Linked DNA regions of Homo sapiens: all the other regions are linked to region 2. The links are contacts of gene promoters, found by promoter capture Hi-C in human tissues and cell types (Jung and others, 2019). All regions are on one chromosome and are shown on one strand. The core of a region is centred on a gene start or on the middle of the fragment in contact, and the rest is flanking DNA. Distances in the headings are between cores, read along the strand shown.

The links. Contacts are between HindIII fragments. The study calls those that stand out against the background at their distance.
Region 1: a fragment that was not itself captured here is called in contact with the fragment with the promoter of RPL10L in region 2 in 2 of the 25 tissues and cell types used here (dorsolateral prefrontal cortex and pancreas).
Region 3: a contact is called between a fragment that was not itself captured here and the fragment with the promoter of RPL10L in region 2, in 2 of the 25 tissues and cell types used here (dorsolateral prefrontal cortex and mesendoderm cells).
Region 4: a contact is called between a fragment that was not itself captured here and the fragment with the promoter of RPL10L in region 2, in 2 of the 25 tissues and cell types used here (stomach and thymus).

Annotation. Positions count from the first base shown.
Region 1 is chr14:46,801,331-46,805,948 of GRCh38, forward strand. No RefSeq gene overlaps it. Among named protein-coding and RNA genes, the nearest start is that of RPL10L, 150 kb to the left of the region's middle. The HindIII fragment of the contact is 3,605 bases long and covers 691-4,295 here.
Region 2 is chr14:46,648,668-46,653,325 of GRCh38, forward strand. RPL10L (ribosomal protein L10 like) reads right to left here and starts at 3,114. Exons shown (of 1, transcript NM_080746.3): 1 at 2,343-3,114. The coding sequence starts at 3,069. The coding sequence ends at 2,425. The region is part of intron 3 of LOC105370481 (a long non-coding RNA gene); the gene reads right to left. The HindIII fragment of the contact is 6,030 bases long and covers 1-4,658 here.
Region 3 is chr14:46,843,029-46,847,513 of GRCh38, forward strand. It overlaps MDGA2 (MAM domain containing glycosylphosphatidylinositol anchor 2), which reads right to left. Exons shown (of 17, transcript NM_001113498.3): 16 at 2,738-2,843. Among named protein-coding and RNA genes, the nearest start is that of RPL10L, 190 kb to the left of the region's middle. The HindIII fragment of the contact is 8,716 bases long and covers 1-4,485 here.
Region 4 is chr14:46,783,956-46,788,000 of GRCh38, forward strand. No RefSeq gene overlaps it. Among named protein-coding and RNA genes, the nearest start is that of RPL10L, 130 kb to the left of the region's middle. The HindIII fragment of the contact is 5,792 bases long and covers 1-4,045 here.

The DNA of each region.
Region 1 (4,618 bases), core at 1,243-3,742, 150 kb after region 2:
TTTATTCTATTTTGTACTAATGACATTTGCTGTGGAACGATACTGATATGAAGAACACTTGTCTAGTGCTTAATTTTATGCAATACTCTTCCACACGAGCAACATAGAACTGATCAATTTGCAAACCATTATTACTTTTGGAATTGCTCCCAGGAGAGAAAAAATAACAATTTTCCTATTTCATCTTCTTAAGAGTCACTCTTTTCTTATCATTACCCTCATTTTTTTGTGATAAAATTTTTTTTTTACTTTCATAGTAACAAAATTTATGGCATCAGTTTACTAAAAGGTGTGAAGAAGTCAGCTAAATAACTAGTGCTGACAGCTGTAATTCATTTCCTCAGCAATCAATACGCTCCAAAATGAAATCACTTATAAAAACATCTCAGAAAGCAATTTATAGGAATCAATTACTACCCATGATGGAGAGGTATTATAAGCTGTTATCTAATAATAAAGAGAACAATCTATCAGATATAACTGACCCACAAATGACAAATTAATAGAATTATGATCAAAGGAATAGAAAAAGACATTAGAACAGTGACTGTAACTATATTCCATATGTTCAAGAACCTAGAGAAAGATTGAAGATGTTAAGTTGTATTAGCCCGTTTTCATGCTGCTGATAAAGACATACTCGAGACTGGGCAATTTACAAAAGAAAGAAGTTTAATTGGACTTACAGTTCCACATGGCAGGGGAAGCCTCACAATCATGACAGGAGGCAAGGAGGAGCAAGTCACCTCTTAAATGGATGGTAGCAGGCAAAGAGAGAGATTGGGCAGGGAAATTTCCCCTTATGATACCATCAGATCTCATGAGACTTATTAGCTATCATGAGAACAGCATGGGAAAGACCTGCACCCATAATTCAACTGCCTCCCTCCAGATCCCTCTCACAACATGTGGGAATTCAAGATAAGATTTGGGTGGGGACACAGCCAAACCATATCATAAATGGAGACATAGAAGAATCAAAAAGACACAAATCAACTTCTAGAGATGAAACTATATTTAAGATTAAACAATACACTTGATGGAACTAATAGAAGGTTATGTTTTGCAGAAAAAAAGTAACAAATTTAAAGACATAGCAATAGAAAGTATCCAAAAGGAAATGCATAGAAAAAACGAATAGACTATCATTGAGCTGTGGGCAACTTCAAGCAGACTAATATGTGTATAATTAAAGCAACTGAAGTCTCCACAAGAGGGCTGTGTGGTGGTTTTCAAATATAACCACAAATTCATTGATATTCCTTTTTTAATATATGGAGCCTTGTATTGATGCTCTTGAATGTGAAATGGACTTATGACTTGGTTCTAAAGAATAAAGTGACAATGATGGAGTGTGACTTTGGAGAGTAGGTCATAAGAGGTACCATAGCTTTCTTCTCAGTCATTCACATTTGAGAAGAAATTAGCTGCCATGTTGTAAAAATAGTCCTACCTGTTAAAAAACTAACGCCTTTTGCCAACAAGAATTGAGGAACTGAGGCATCCTGCCAACAGTCATGTGAGTGAGTTACCTTTAAACACATTCTTTAGTCCAGATAAGCCATTAGATGACAGCAGCCCTGTCCAACAAATGACTATAACCGCATGAGAGACTCTGATTCAGAACTATCCAGTAAGCTTCTTCTGAATTCCTACTCACAGAAACAATGATATAATATTCAGTTATTAAAGCTGCTAGTTTTTATTTAGGAATTTATAATATATTGGGAATTTATAATATATTTAGGAATTTATAATTGATATTGATATAGTATAACATGAATAACATGTTATACAGCAATAGATTACTAATACACATTTTTATGCCTAAAAGTGAGGAACTGCCACAAAATAACTCTATACTGTGACAATGACTATTAAACTGAACATTGGGAAGAAGCTGGGAACATTTGAGAGGGTTTATAAAAGCTGAAAAAGCCTAGAATAAAGTGTCTGTAGAAGCACCATGGACTTTTGGGAGGCTATAAGTGAGGACTTAAAGGAAAGTGGGAAAAATTTTAAATTGGAGGAGACTGGATACTTGTTACATGGTGGGAGTTAGAAATACTGTCCTCTCTAATAATATTTAACATAAAAAACACTCCTAATGAACTGGATTACCTAGCTAAGGACATTCCCACTCTCAGTGTTGAACGTGCTTTCTGGTGGCTTCTTACTGCTTACAGTAAAATGTGAGAGGAAAGAGATAAACAATGGAAATGCTCTAAAACAATAATAATTAGAGGTTTAATAGCATTGAAAATTATCAGACTTCCCAAAAAGCAAAACATGTTAAAAATCAAGCAATGGCTTCCAAGAAATGGTCAAATACAGTTCACTGTAAGAAAATCATTGTCTAAATATGAAACCAAAGGCATGAATGTAAAATGTGTTGTTAGGATCTCAGACATATCAATGGTCTTGCCTCAAACAAAAGATCCATTCAAGAATTTAATTAATCATCTCATGGATCCTTTCAAACAAATGATAGGTTTTCTAAGAAGCTTAAAGGCACTGTCCTTGCTGTCACAGTAGAAGTCCTATGTAGAGAAGACTTATCTTGAAGAAATTTGTGAGTATAAGTTTTGAGAATGAAGTGAACCCCAGTATTATTCATCTGGGACCTACGAAATTTGAAAACAATTACATTCACTAAACACTGTGAATTTACAATTAAGACATGAAGGTGGTAAAAAGCGAAAAGTTTTTGGATTCCCAAAATTTGACCAGCAGGAAGCAGCCTAAGTAAATTATGCACCAGCAAACATGGGTTACTTTTACAGAAAAGAAGGATGATTGAGAGGGAGAAACCAAGAGCCCAAAAAGCATAATAAAAAGCCCCAGAAGGCAAAGACAATTGTCAGGAAGCATTATTTCTTAGAAAGACTATCATGAGTTATAATCAAGGACCTTCTAACACTTGTTTGGATGACTTTCAAAATGAGCATGAATTAATGATTTTGTTATTTCCATTTTTCCCTTTGTGAACAGGAATGTCTATAATAGTTATTGTATATCTGTCCCACTACTGTGTGTGGAGAGTGGGTGGGCATCACGTCTGTTTATACCTTAGGTCATACTTCAGTAACTGTATCTAAGAAACTAAAGTGAGGCAGCAGCTTCTCCATATGGAACTGATATAAATGGCAAGATAAGGAACTTTTTGCTAGTTATATAATGGGATAAGACTTTGGAAACTTGGAAAGAAATGAATGTATTTTGCATATGATAGGATTATAAATAGTTTATCACCAGAAGCTAGCACTGTATATTGCAAAGATTTGTCTTTTCTTTATTAAATTATCTTGGCATATTTGTCAAAACTCAGTTGACTTTATATGTGTGGGTTTATAGTAGGTTACTCTATTCTGTCACACATATTTATGTATCCATACTTTTACCAATACTACACTGTCTTGATTAACACTGTTTTGAAGTAGTGTGTGCTCTCATTTTTTTCTTTTTCAAAATTGTCTTGACTATTATAGTTTTTTATTTTTCATGTAAATTTTAGAATCAGCTTGTAAATTTTTACAAAAGAAGTCCCCCTAAAATTTTGATTGTAATGCATTAAATTTGTACAAAAATTTAGTTTCTTAACAACTTCTCGAGAATGGTGAGTCTTCCTATCTTTGAACTTACAAATCTCTCCATTAATTTCAATCTTTTGGATTTCTTTCATGAATATTTTGTAGTTTTCAGCATAGAGATGTTTACATTTTTGGTGCTATGTATACTTATTTCATGTTTTTCCGTACTATTATAAATATTATTGCTTTTTCAATTTTAATTTCCAGTTGTTCATTGCTATTATGTAGAAATATAATTGATTGTCATATATATATCTTAAATATATTGACTTCATTAAGCTCACAATATTTGTAGTAACTAATTTTTGTATCTTTGGATTTCTCTATGCAGACAATTATTTTGCCTGTGCATAGAAACAGTTTATATCTTCCTTTCCAAATGTATGCCTTTTACTCCTTTTTCGTATTTTATTGTACAGTCCAGAGCCTCCAGGATAATGTTGAATAGGAGTGGAGCGATTGAATATTCTTTCCTTGTTTACTATTTTTGGGAGAAAGGGTTTCACTGTTATCTATAATGTGAGCTATAAGCTTTGTTTTTAATAGATAGCCTTTATCAGGTGAAGGAATTTATAATACGTTGATATTGACATTTTCTGCATTTAATGAAATTATTATTTTTTCCTTTTTTGTATGTTTAATTATATTGTTTTTCACATGTTGAATCAACTCTACATTTCCTATATAAACCCACTTGTCAGGATGTATTACACCTTTATACATTGCTAGATTGGACTTCCTGACATGTTGTTTGTAATCTTTGTGTCTAAGTCCATTATATACCCTGTAGTTATATTTTCTTATAATATATTTTTATCATTCTTGAATAATTTATTTTTGAACTTCATGTCTCTCTTCTAATGTTAGACTTATATTTAAGCTTTAACAGGGCAACACCTTTGCCAAAATCAAAAACTCCTTTAATCAGCAATGTGTCACTTATGTCATACAAAGTTGTTTAAAAGAAATAACCCGTAAGCTTTATAAATTCCAATTTTCATTACTTATTTAATACTAAAGATATGATT
Region 2 (4,658 bases), core at 1,864-4,363:
CGGGCGCGGTGGCTCACGCCTGTAATCCCAGCACTTTGGGAGGCCGAGGCGGGCGGATCACAAGGTCAGGAGATCAAGACCATCCTGGCTAATATGGTGAAACCCCGTCTCTACTAAAAATACAAAAAAAAAATTAGCCGGGCGTGGTGGCGGGCGCCTGTAGTCCCAGCTACTCGGGAGGCTGAGGCAGGAGAATGGCGTGAACCCAGGAAGCGGAGCTTGCAGTGAGCGGAGATCGCGCCACTGCCCTCCAGGCTGGGTGACAGAGCAAGACTCCGTCTCAAAAAAAAAAAAAAAAAAAAAAAATTAAAGATTTTCAAGCAAAATATGCTTAATACAGTTGCATATTTTGAGGGAGTAGAAATGATGGATTATATAATAATCATTTATGAAATGTGCTTTTCGAAACTAAATTGATACACTACATAGTCCTACTGAAGTTTTCTTCATCTTATTCAGTCAGTATTTTCCATTAAAACCTATATATTTCATCAATTAAATAAAAAAGTTTCATTGGGCAGTATTTGCTGGAATTTCATTAACTACACTTGTATTCTTTTATTTAAAACGAGCAAACAGTTCATTTTATTGCAGCAGTAGATGAACAGAAATATGTTCCCAAATGCAATTTTCTATTTTGAGCAGAAATTTTAAAATAACGAACTCTGCAAAATTATAATTAAATGATCCTTCAGCCCAATTGTCTTACTATTTTTTTTTTAAATAATTAGAATGACCCTAAAATAAGAAAATGCTGAAAAAACAAAATAATGACTTGGGGAAAATTAGTAGGAAGGATTTTTAACAAAAACAAGTAAAAGTGCTTGTATGTCAACGTTTAAAAAAAGAATTTATATATAATCTTTATAACGTGAAACTGTGGGAAAATTCAAATAAAAAATTTATTGACAGCTACCTACCAGTTTTTAATGCATTAATTCTTAATCATTCATTTCCTCTTCACTCCCATATCTATATGCATAAACAATTACTGTTACCAATCTCTTAGGGCAAGGAAGTTCATGAGCTTATACTTAACCTCTCTCCCTATATATTTAGTTGAGTGCAGAGTTCCAAGTTTGAAGGTCAAGATGTTTTGAGAGGTTTAAGACCAAAGAGAAAGGGAAATAATGAAGATGGAAAATATTTTCAAAGCTGGGCCATGGTTGTACTAGAAGCTAAGGGGTTGCTGATTTTATTGTGTTTTGTATTGCCTTTCTCTTTTGATTATTATTATTATTTAGAGGTTGAATTTTCGTTTTTGAAAGTGTGGTAAAACGCAAACATGAAAAACGTCTTAAAATAGCAACATAGCTTAAATATATACAAATAGGAAATATCTTATAGCAAGGGCCTAAAATAAATATCCAGCCAGATACAATATGTTAAGACTGACATAGCATTTCTTTAAATAAATGAAAATTAAATAGTAGTGTTTCTTACTATTTCTTTTGTTGTTTTCATTAAATGTGTTGACTTTGAAAAAGAACCGTTAGTCTAAAAACACTGAAGGCACTGTTAGCAGGATTGAGATTCAAAAGGCTAAGTCAATTGTAAAGAACAAGAATTTTTTTTAATGCAGTACAAACTCAGGAATTTTAGCTTATGTAGTTTCAAAAATAAAACAAAAAGCACCTGTGTCATCAACGTAACTCTAATTCAGGGCAAGCACCTACAATTGCAAACTCTCTTTAGGGTCCTTTTATAGCACAGATAACCGATTTAGTGTCATTTTCTCTCTTCTTTTGGTTCTACTGGAGCCCAGATACAAGTAATATGAACTCTGTTGTCACCTATGACCTTTCTATGATGAAAAAAAGATTAGACTGTTATCTCTTGACTGTGAGACAATGTAAAGTTCGTCTGGAAAAGCCTTTCAGAGTGATACTCAATTGTCCTAAGGCTGATAATCAGACGTGTAAGGTAATTCTAAAAACAATGTACAGAAATTTATAGAAAAACATAAGGCAACCAAGTTTAGAAATAAATTACTTCCAAAGAGGCTGTGGGTGAAATATCACTAATGCCTACTATTATTTTCATCGCTACTGTTTAGTTTATATTCTATAAACAAATTTTTTCACTCAAATCTATTTTTTATTCAAGGAATGATAGCTGCATAACTTATGACTTTACTACAAACAAAACTTTCAACATATTGCTCTATACTCTCCTAAATTTAAAGTGTTTGCTTAAAACAGCTTTCTCTATAAATTGTATAGTTTTACTGAAGCAAGGAAGGTAACATTTGCCATTAAAACTGAATAAATAGAAAAAAATTCTCTAGTAGTCTATATTCTAAAACATTGGATATTTAAAAAATATTAAAACTTAATAAGGAGTTATTTTTTGCCAGTAAACAGAATTTATTAGTAAGCATAAGTCAGACCAGCATGGCCCAAGGAGACAGTACTGCCAAAACCTTCATGAGTGCAGAACCCGCCACTTGTCCAAGGGGCCATGACTGGGAACGTACTTGACTCCACAACCATCAGGGATGAGGCACTTCTTGGCCACCATGTCTTCAAATTCGTCAGCATTAAACTTCGTGAAGCCCCACTTCTTGGAGATATGAATCTTCTGGCGTCCAGGGAACTTGAACTTGGCCCTGCGCAAGGCTTCAATCACATGCTCCTCGTTCTGAAGCTTGGTGCGGATGGACATGATGACTTGACCAATGTGGACCCGGGCTACAGTACCCTGGGGTTTTCCAAAGGCACCTCGCATACCTGTCTGGAGCCTGTCAGCCCCAGCACAGGACAACATCTTGTTGATGCGGATGACATGGAAGGGATGGAGCCGCACTCGCATGTGAAAGCCATCTCTGCCACAACTTTTCACCATGTATTTGTTGGCACAAATACGGGCGGCCTCCAGGGCTTCAGAAGACAGCTGCTCATATTCATCAGACACCATGTGGCCACCGAGTGGGAACTCATCCACTTTTGCCTTCTTTCTACCCAGGTCAAAGATGCGGATCTTGGCATCAGGAACCCCTCGGCAGAAACGAGATTTTGGGTACGGCTTGTTCTTACAATACCGGTAACAGCGAGCTGGACGGCGCCCCATGGCGACACAGTAACGTCGGCGGTGCCTCGAAGTCAAAATGCGCTCTCTTAACTACGCCTGCGCGCATTTATATACGTTGCCCCTCGTCCCTCGCGGGAACCATAGAGTCCTGAGGCCGGAACCATAGAGTCCTGAGGAGGATGTGACGACTCTCTTTCAGGACGTCCCAACCAGAGACGCAGGGACGTCTGGCGCCTCAGCGCCTGCGCCAAGTGGCGCGCTTAAGGTGAGCAGAGTCAGCTGTGGGTAGACTCCCCCTGGCGGCCAGGGAAGGAATTGGGCCCCGCCCCAACTGCACAGCTGCTGCTTCCTTTCTGCTAGCCATCTTGGGCTAGGAACTCTTGCTTTCAGCTTTGCTTTAAGTATAAAAGAGGTTATTTCCAGGCAGGAGAATCTCTTGAGCTCAGGAGTTCGAGGCCAGCCTGGGCAATATAGTGAAATGCTGTCTCTACAAAAAAAAAAATATATATATATCAAATAGCTGGGCATGGTGGCACATGCTTGTAGTCCCAGCTACTCAGGAGGCTGAGGTGGGAGGATCGCCTGGGCCCTGCAGGCAGAAACTGCAGTGAGCTGAGATAGCACCACTGCACTCCAGCTTGAGTGACAGAGGGAGACCCTGTCTAAAGAAAAAGAAAAAAAGAAATCCTAGAATTTGAGAGGAAAAATCCTTCCAGTTATTCAACATGCTGTTTCCAGTTTGGTCAGTTCATTTTCCAGAGCTTGTATCTCACTGTCAGCATTTGTAGATCAATTGCTGTTTCTTGGGTTATGTGGCCACCTTCCCTGGATAAAGTGGTTTCTTGGCATGAGTGCTTTGATGAGACTCAGGAAGAGATGAGAGGAAGAGAAGAGAGAGGGATAAAGAGAAGATATCTGTTGTATCTGTAGCTTGGCAATTGTTTTATAAACATGAAACTTTGTTTTTTCTTTATTTGGCCTAAAGAAATGATTTTATTATCAAAATGATATATACAAAATTGAAACACCAACTAGATTTTTTTTAACTTAAGGCTATTTGCATTTTCAAATGTTAAAGCTGCTGAAACTATATAAAAGAGTAACAGTTTGTGTTTTAGTAATCTTTTGCCCCTGAGAATAAATTTAAACTTTTTTTCTTCTCAGAGTTTGTAAAAATATTATGACAGGGATCAGAGTGTAGGAAAGGAGGAAGAAGAGAGAGGAAAAGAAATTAATAGTTTACAAACCCTACTTGCATTTTTCTAGTTTTCTTTTTTGTTTTAATGTTGTTTCACAAATCCATTACATCATGGAACAAAATCCCCCCAATGTGAATATATTCTGTCAATACTCTTTGTTTTAAGGGAGAAAAATAACTCCTGCCCTTAAAGTGAGTGGATTTTTACAAAATACTAAAGATAAAACAATTAAATCTCCCAATGTAGAAAACTTTCTGACCTTTAAGAAAGCTTTCTCACTTCCCTTTTCTTCCTTCATTTCTTCTTTCCCCTTTTTCTCAACTAGTTCCTGTTTAACATATTGAGATAAAGTAGCTAATACCATGTTGCTCTCACCAAGCTTACAAGCCTAGGAGAGGATATAGATACTTCTCATATATCATCATATTA
Region 3 (4,485 bases), core at 715-3,214, 190 kb after region 2:
GATTATTTATTTCCCCTAATTTATAGAGTTTAAATATAAATACACCCAATACATACAGGGGGTGTTTTCATATTTAAAACTGCCACACATTTCTTGGATTTGCTAGTTTAAGAGAAAAAAAAAACTAATTATAAAAATGTTCTATTGTAATAGAACTTGTACAGTAATGAAGTCCCTATGGGCTTTCACAGGCATTTACTGTGGCTAGTTTTATCAGTTATGCTTTCTTTCTGCACTAGGGAGTAAATAATTTCCTTTGCTTTCTTCCTTTGAAAAGTTTAATTCAATTTATTGAATTTATTTATAATATTTGTGCTTACATTATGAAAATGTAAAATTTCTGTATATAGTTGTAACTGCCTTCAATTAATAAAATGTTACTGCCACTCAGTCATACTATGAAATTCAAAAGAAATCCTATTCTCCTTTGAGGAGAATACATGTTTTCCTGTGCATTAGAAAAACTGTTCTTTTGAGTATAGCTACTGGTTTTCTAAAGCAGAACTAGACAGACACAAGGATACATTTTTACTAAATATGTTACTTGAAATACTAAGTTTATGACTTTTTAATATATTTTCATTTTATATAACAATGAGCAAAATGGCTCATTGTTATATAAAAATCTTAGTTTTTGTCTTTTGACAATACTTAAGAATTGAGTCAATTCAGTTCATATGAGTAATCAGTGGACAATTGTACACATTCAACTTTCAACATCTAGACTGGTACAGTTTCTCACTAAATATAGAAAATTACCAAAGACTCTGATTTGCTCTAGATTTATACAACATAGATTTTCATGCTTTTGTATGTGCTAAATAATTGATGAGTAATTTGTGTAAATTTAGTTTGATTACTTTCTCTATATATGACCACAAAATAAAAGATTCCAGATGAGTCTAAGATAATCCTTCAATTGCAGTCATTTTTAACAGGAATGATTTTAGATTTCATAGCTTCGAATGTGAAATATGGAGATGAGGACTTTAAGAAGCAGCTAAATACATAATTCTAAATCTTTGTGCATTATTCATCATGTTTTATTTATATCTCTTCTATTATAAAATGGACCTGTGACAAAAAAATAAAATTAAATATATCATTAAACCATAATACTCAAAAAAGGGTATAAAGTGAAAATCAAATTATTAAACAAGCTTGTGGTGCAGATAGGAGATTAGACCATAAATATGAGGTCTACTTCATTACTTAATATATGTATTTAGGCTCTTTACAATGCTGAATCTGTTAAAATGGCTGGCAAAAGGCCAGGCACAGTGGCTCACGCCTGTAATCCCAGCAGTTTGGGAGGCCGAGGCAGGTGGACCACCTGAGGTCGGGAGTTCGAGACCAGCCTGGCCAACATGGTGAAACCGCGTCTCTACTAAAAATACAAAAAATTAGCGGGGTGTGGTGCCGCGAGTCTGTAATCCCAGCTACTCAGGAGGCTGAGGCAAGAGAATCACTTGAACCCGGGAGGCGGAGATTGCAGTGAGCAGAGATTGCACTGTTGCACTCCAGCCTGGGCAACAAGAGCAAAACTCCGTCTCAAAAAAAAAAATTGGCTAAATCAGGAAATATATTCACTATATTCACAAACTGGACGAATGAAAGCATCTATGCTGACATGGTAAGGCTTTGTGTCCTCACACAAGTCTCATCTTGAAATATAATCTGCATAATCCCCATGTTTCAAGGGAGAGACCAAATCTCATCTTGAAATATAATCCGCATAATCCCCATGTTTCAAGTGAGAGACCAGGTGGAGGTAACTGAATCATGGGGGCTCTTCCCCTATGCTCTTCTCATGAAAGTGAGTTTTCACTAGATCTGATGATTTTTATTATTATTATTATTATTATGTTTTTGAGACAGACTCTTGCTCTGTCGCCCAGGCTGGAGTGCAGTGGCGTGATCTTGGCTCACTGCAAGCTCCGCCTCCCGCGTTCACGCCAATCTCCTGCCTCGGCCTCCCGAGTAGCTGGGACTACAGGGACTACACGCCCGGCTAATATTTTTTCTTTGTATTTTTAAATAGAGACGGGGTTTCACCGTCTTAGCCAGGATGGTCTTGATCTCCTGACCTTGTGATCCACCCGCCTCGGCCTCCCAAAGTGCTGGGATTACAGGCGTGAGCCACCGCGCCCGGCCGATCTGATGATTTTATAAGGGGCACTTCCCCCTTCTCTCAGCAATTCTCCTTGCTGCCTTGTGAAGAAGGTACTCTGCTTCCCCTTCACCTTCCGCCATGATTGTGAGTTTCCTTAGGCCTCCCAGCCTTGCTGAACTGTGAGTCAATTAAATCTCTTTCTTTTATAAATTACCCAGTGTTGGGCAGTTCTTTATAGCAGTATGAAGATTGACTAATACAATTTACATTGTAAATATGTGCTATGTATATAGGTTCATCAAATATTTTAATACAAGTTTTTAAATCTTCTAAAACAAATAATATCAAAGTGTTTTAAAATCTTAATTAAAAATCAAAGTGTACTTGCCTTACGTAGATCTAAATCAAAATCTCACTTCTATTTTATCTTAGGCCAAATATGTCTACAATTGAATTTAATACTTTAAAAATAACTGAACAAACTTTAGGGTATTACATATAAGAAATTTCTAAATAAACCAACTAAAAATAACTCCGTTTTTAAAATTAATTAAATTAAATGTTAATTTAATAGTAATGTTACTTTAACGTTACAACAAACCAATCTCAAGCAAAGATACTTACTCTTAGTTGCTAGGTCTTGTTTTGCACATTCTCCTTCTGCAATTGATACATCATCAATAGCAATGTCACCTTCTATTCCAGGACCTCGGATACCTTCAAAAATGAGCTACAAATATGAATGAAACAAACCTAAATGTGGAGCTTTGATTTGCAGATCAGTTTCTCTTGAGAAATCAAGGTGACAAAAATAAACTTGTCAGTAATCCTGGCATCTTTTATATTTGATGGCTTTCAAAATTAAAACTTGCAGAAAACATAAACTTTCATCCCAAAACCAGTAATTGAATCTTCCTTGCATTGTATTAGTTTTTCACATCAAAAGCTCTGTGTCGATTTTAAAGCAAAACTAAACTTAATTAAATAATACAATTAAAAAAAATGACTACACATCCTCTTTTAATTTTTAAGGATAAGAAAAAATGTTTTATTTGAAAAGTCTTTCTCTGAGATAGATTCTTTCTGGTTTTATCTGAACATAACTCATAACATTAGTTTTCTAGAAATATTTTAAAGAATGAATCAATTCTGAATTCTTTACAACAGTAATATGTATATTGAAGCCCGGAACAAAGTGTTTCTATCTCTGACATTGATTTCTCACAAATAGATTGAATAGGTTCGTCATATTCCCATGTTGACTTTATAATTTACCTCCATGATTTCACTGCTGATATTCCATTTTTTTAAACTTGAAGATATGTATCAGTCTATTTATGTTGAATATCTCACGGTATACCTTTGAATTTATGGTGTCTATAACAATGGTGGTCACTGAGGCTCAGTGCATGAATATTGAAAGAATAAATGAGTACAATCAGAATCCTTTATTATTAAATACTTAAAACAATGACAATAGAAGCACAATTAGCAAATTTATATATTTTTTATTTTTACAGAAACAGGACTCTTTTAGAATTTTCTTTATGGCTCCCAAATTATTCCTTGCTTTCAGCAAAACTTTAATCTTTTTGATACTGTAAGGCAATTCATGCATTTAGTGGTGGGTATACAGTTCTAGAAAAATATTTACATGTTAAAAGGAAATATCTGCTTTGGTCATTCCAAAGAATAGTTTAATAAAGAGCTGTTTCTAACATCAATCTGGTAATGTGCTTTATTAATAACATTTCTAGACTTATGTCATCACAACAAATCTGACAATGTTTATTTTTATCAATGCCAAAGTTTTTGTTTTTGTTTTTATTTGAAAACATCTCCTCAAAGGCAAATCAGAGTCATCTCTGAACTTTTCAAAGCTGCTGTCCTGGGAAAGCCATAGCTTAATTATGATGATTTTGAGAGAACTTAGGCTACTTTTGAGAAATTTATCCAATGTTCTTTGATATGCTCTCATAATATTATCAGTGGGAATCTCCAGGTAGTAACCAGAGGCATCAGTTGTCAACTTTTGTATTGAGACCCTGTCCTTCACTTAAATGTAGTTCATCAAACAAATAATAATTTTCATGATTTGATAGCAGAGAAAAATTTGAGTTCTTACTGATATACAGATATGATAAATATGGAGTTTCCTGCTTATCTATGTTAAGATAAGCATGTTCTTAAAGATTCTCCAAAGCCATCTCTTTGAAAGACATTTAAAATGGTCTGTTTCACTGAAGCCAAAACAAAATGGCAGCTGTAGTTCAAATATTTAGAACCAAGTTAGCAGTTTAGCAAATTCTCAGTCCTCAGATAGAATTTACAATGAAGTATTATTTTGGCTGCTTGGAAATGATGACTTCCAT
Region 4 (4,045 bases), core at 1,230-3,729, 130 kb after region 2:
TTTTATATTTGAGAGTCGTAATTTGACATTTTACAAGTTATAATTGCACAAATGGGACTAAGCTCACCATCAGTTCTATTCCTGTATATTTTTATAGATGTAATAACTTAGAAAACTCATTCACATTAAAGAAGAGATTTGTTAAATCAACATTTTTCTCTGTTTTAACTGCTTTAGAGTTGTCAAAAATAACATAGTAATCTATTATTATATTAACCAATTGTCATATTTATACAATTAATAAAGCCCATTTATTATTAAATTATCATTAGTGGTTGACTATCCAACAAAACTGATTCTCCAATACTGCTAAAAGCAAAGATTAAGAAACTACTAGATTTGCAAAATGTTCGTCACTCAGTAACTTGGCCATCTCAGAGATTTTGCACCTAGAGGAAACATATACACTATTCTTTCTTTTGCCTTGCCTTGATTCCTAAGGCATATAAATCCAGGAAATGGTACTGATAGAAAAGAAGAACTGGAAAATTATTTCCCTTCTTCTAATAAAGAAAAATCATTCAGAAATTTAGTTATTGGTATGTGTCCAAGTTTTTCACAATCTTACATTCAATGGATAAGAGCCATAGAAAAACAATTAAAATATTTACAATTAATAGATTATAATAATATAACATCAATTAATAAATAATGATATATTATTAATAGGGCATTCCACAAGGCAAGAGAAGCTTAATCATGTGTTTAATCATGATTAGATTAAACACACAAGAAATAATGGTTAAAGACCTGATAATTGAGACTTAATAAGCTGAGTGGGTAACTCTTTGACAGAGCATATCTTAATTACAAGAAAAGTTATCAGAAAATATTTAAAGACTTTGTTGGGAATGCTAATTTCTTCTAAGGATAAAACTGGGAAAAAATATTTTGGTCTATTCGTCTGGGACTATTTTTTTTTTTTTTTTTTACTTTCAGACACTTCTTAACAATTGTACTATGATTTTGAATGATGTTAACATTAGGGGAAGTAGTGTCAGAGATATAAGAGAAATCTCTGTGCTACTTTTGCAATTCTTCATAAGTCTAAAATTAGTTTAAATTAAAAAGCTATAAATGAAGTGTTTGTGTACCCTCAAGTTTATAGACAGTTACTACCACATGCAAAGCAAAGAAACAGTGAGAAGTAAATGAACATATAATTTCCATATAATTTCTCACACATAGAGAGTGCACAATAAATGTAAACAAATATATTACTAAAGTTGGGTATATATAATTGTTACACGGTTTGGTCATGTATCATATTTTTTGCTTAATTTTAACTCTTTCTTTTGTTATTTTATATTTTGACTTTTAATATAGAAAGTGAGAAATTTCCTTTTATGTTTTAGAATTGGTTGAGAGCAAATATTTTATCATAACACATATCATGATTAAACAAAATTCTGCCTTATTAAAACATTCCTAGAGTGGCCATGCATATATAAAATATACATAAAGTATAGATATTTTTCATACTGATTCTTCTTTCATATTTTCGCTTTTTAAAACTTTATTTCAACGTAACTATGCTTTCAGAAATACACTCATATTGGTTAATAGAGTAAAATTTAAGTTTAACTTATCCTACAAAATTTGGACCAAAAACTTGGTACATGGTTTAAGATTCTTAAAAAGGATTTGCAATCTGGTTTATTTTTGTCTATTACAAATGTATAAGAGATCCTCCATCAAATGCTGCTAAAGAAGGCAGCAAGAACCTTGAGAAATTTACCACTGGTTTGCCTCAGAAAAATAACAAGTAATATTCTGCATAAATTTGTAAAATTGGTACAACAAAAAATTGTTGTAATGTTTTAATGCCAGTTTAGAAAGTTCAATAACTAATGGGTATGGAAGGGACTGGGAGGGAACCTATATACACATGTGAAACTCTAAAAGCTATCTGATTTAGTTAATATTGCATGTAGATTGTAAATCTACACAAACCAAGATTCAGATAATTTCTTCAATCTGAGTTAACACTATCTGTTCACTTCAGCTGCTGAGGTCAGTCAGGAAACTGGGAACATTAACTGTAGATTTTCTGACTCATGCATAAAAGAAAATTAAGTTTCTTCCTCAGCTTTTCAGTCCAGAAATGACAGTATACTACAGGCAAAGTATTCCTTCCATTGTCAGCATTCATAGGGTGACATGTAATGAGGTCTACTTGGGTTTTAACTTGTATTAGCACTCATATGCAAAACAGTCTCCAAAGTTAATGACCACATGACTTTAGAAGTGACTATAAAAAATAAAATGGCCCTTCTTAGAAGACTAGAGCAAAACATCCAGCCATGGTTAAAGCCTTATTTTTAAAAATGCAGTCCCTTGTGAATTACACAATTAAAAAAAGTAGCCCCAAAATAAGAAGTAGCTCTGAAGAACAGAGGAAAAAATATAACTTAAAATATCTTCTCTTTTCTATTTTTTTTATTATACTTTAAGTTTTAGGGCACATGTTCACAACATGCAGGTTTGTTACATATGTATACATGTGCCATGTTGGTGTCCTGCACCCATTAACTCATCATTTAACATTAGGTATATCTCCTAATGCTATCCCTCCCCGCTCCACCCACCCCACAACAGGCCCTAGTGTGTGATGTTCCCCTTCTTGTGTCCATGTGTTCTCATTGTTCAATTCCCACCTATGAGTGGGAACATGTGGTGGTTTTTTGTCCTTGTGATAGTTTGCGAGAATGATGGTTTCCAGCTTCATCCATGTCCCTACAAAGGACTTGAACTCATCCTTTTTTATGGCTGCATAGTATTCCATGGTGTATATGTGCCACATTTTCTTAATCCAGTCTATCATTGTTGGACATTTGGGTGGGTTCCAAGTCTTTGCTATTGTGAATAGTGCCGCAATAAACATATGTGTGCATGTGTCTTTATAGCAGCATGTTTTATAATCCTTTGGGTATATACCAGTAATGGGATGGCTGGGTCAAATGGTATTGCTAGTTCTAGATCCCTGAGGAATTGCCACACTGACTTCCACAATGGGTGAACTAGTTTACAGTCCCACCAACAGTGTAAAAGTGTTCCTATTTCTCCACATCCTCTCTAGCACCTGTTGTTTCCTGACTTTTTAATGATCGCCATTCTAACTGGTGTGAGATGGTACCTCATCGTGGTTTTGATTTGCATTTCTCTGATGACCAGTGATGATAAGCATTTTTTCATGTGTCTGTTGGCTGCATAAATGTCTTCTTTTGAGAAGTGTCTGTTCATATCCTTTGCCCACTTGGAAGAATCAATATTGTGAAAATGGCCATACTGCCCAAGGCAATTTATAGATTCAATGCCATCCCCATCAAGCTACCACTTTCTTCACAGATTGGAAAAAACTACTTTAAAGTTCATATGGAATCAAAAAAGAGCCCACATTGCCAAGTCAATCCTAAGCCAAAAGAACAAAGGTGGAGGCACCACGCTACCTGACTTCAAACTATACTACAAGGCTACAGTAACCAAAACAGCATGGTACTGGCACCAAAACAGAGATATAGACCAATGGCACAGTACAGAGCCCTCAGAAATAATGCCACATATCTACAACTATCTGATCTTTGACAAACCTGACAAAACAAAACAAGAAATGGGGAAAGGATTCCCTATTTAATAAATGGTGCTGGGAAAACTGGCTTGTCATATGTAGAAAGCTGAACTGGATCCCTTCCTTACACCTTATACAAAAATTAATTCAAGATGGATTAAAGACTTAAATGTTAGACCTAAAACCATAAAAACCCTAGAAGAAAACCTAGGCAATACCATTCAGGACATAGGCATGGGCAAGGACTTCATGTCTAAAACACCAAAAGCAATGGCAACAAAAGCCAAAATTGACAAATGGGATCTAATTAAACCAAAGAGCTTCTGCACAGCAAAAAGAAACTACCATCAGAGTGAACAGGCAACCTACAGAATGGGAGAAATTTTTTGCAATCTACTCATCTGACAAAGGGCTAATATCCAGAATCTACAATGAACTCAAACAAATTTACAAGAAAAAAACAAACAACCCCATCAA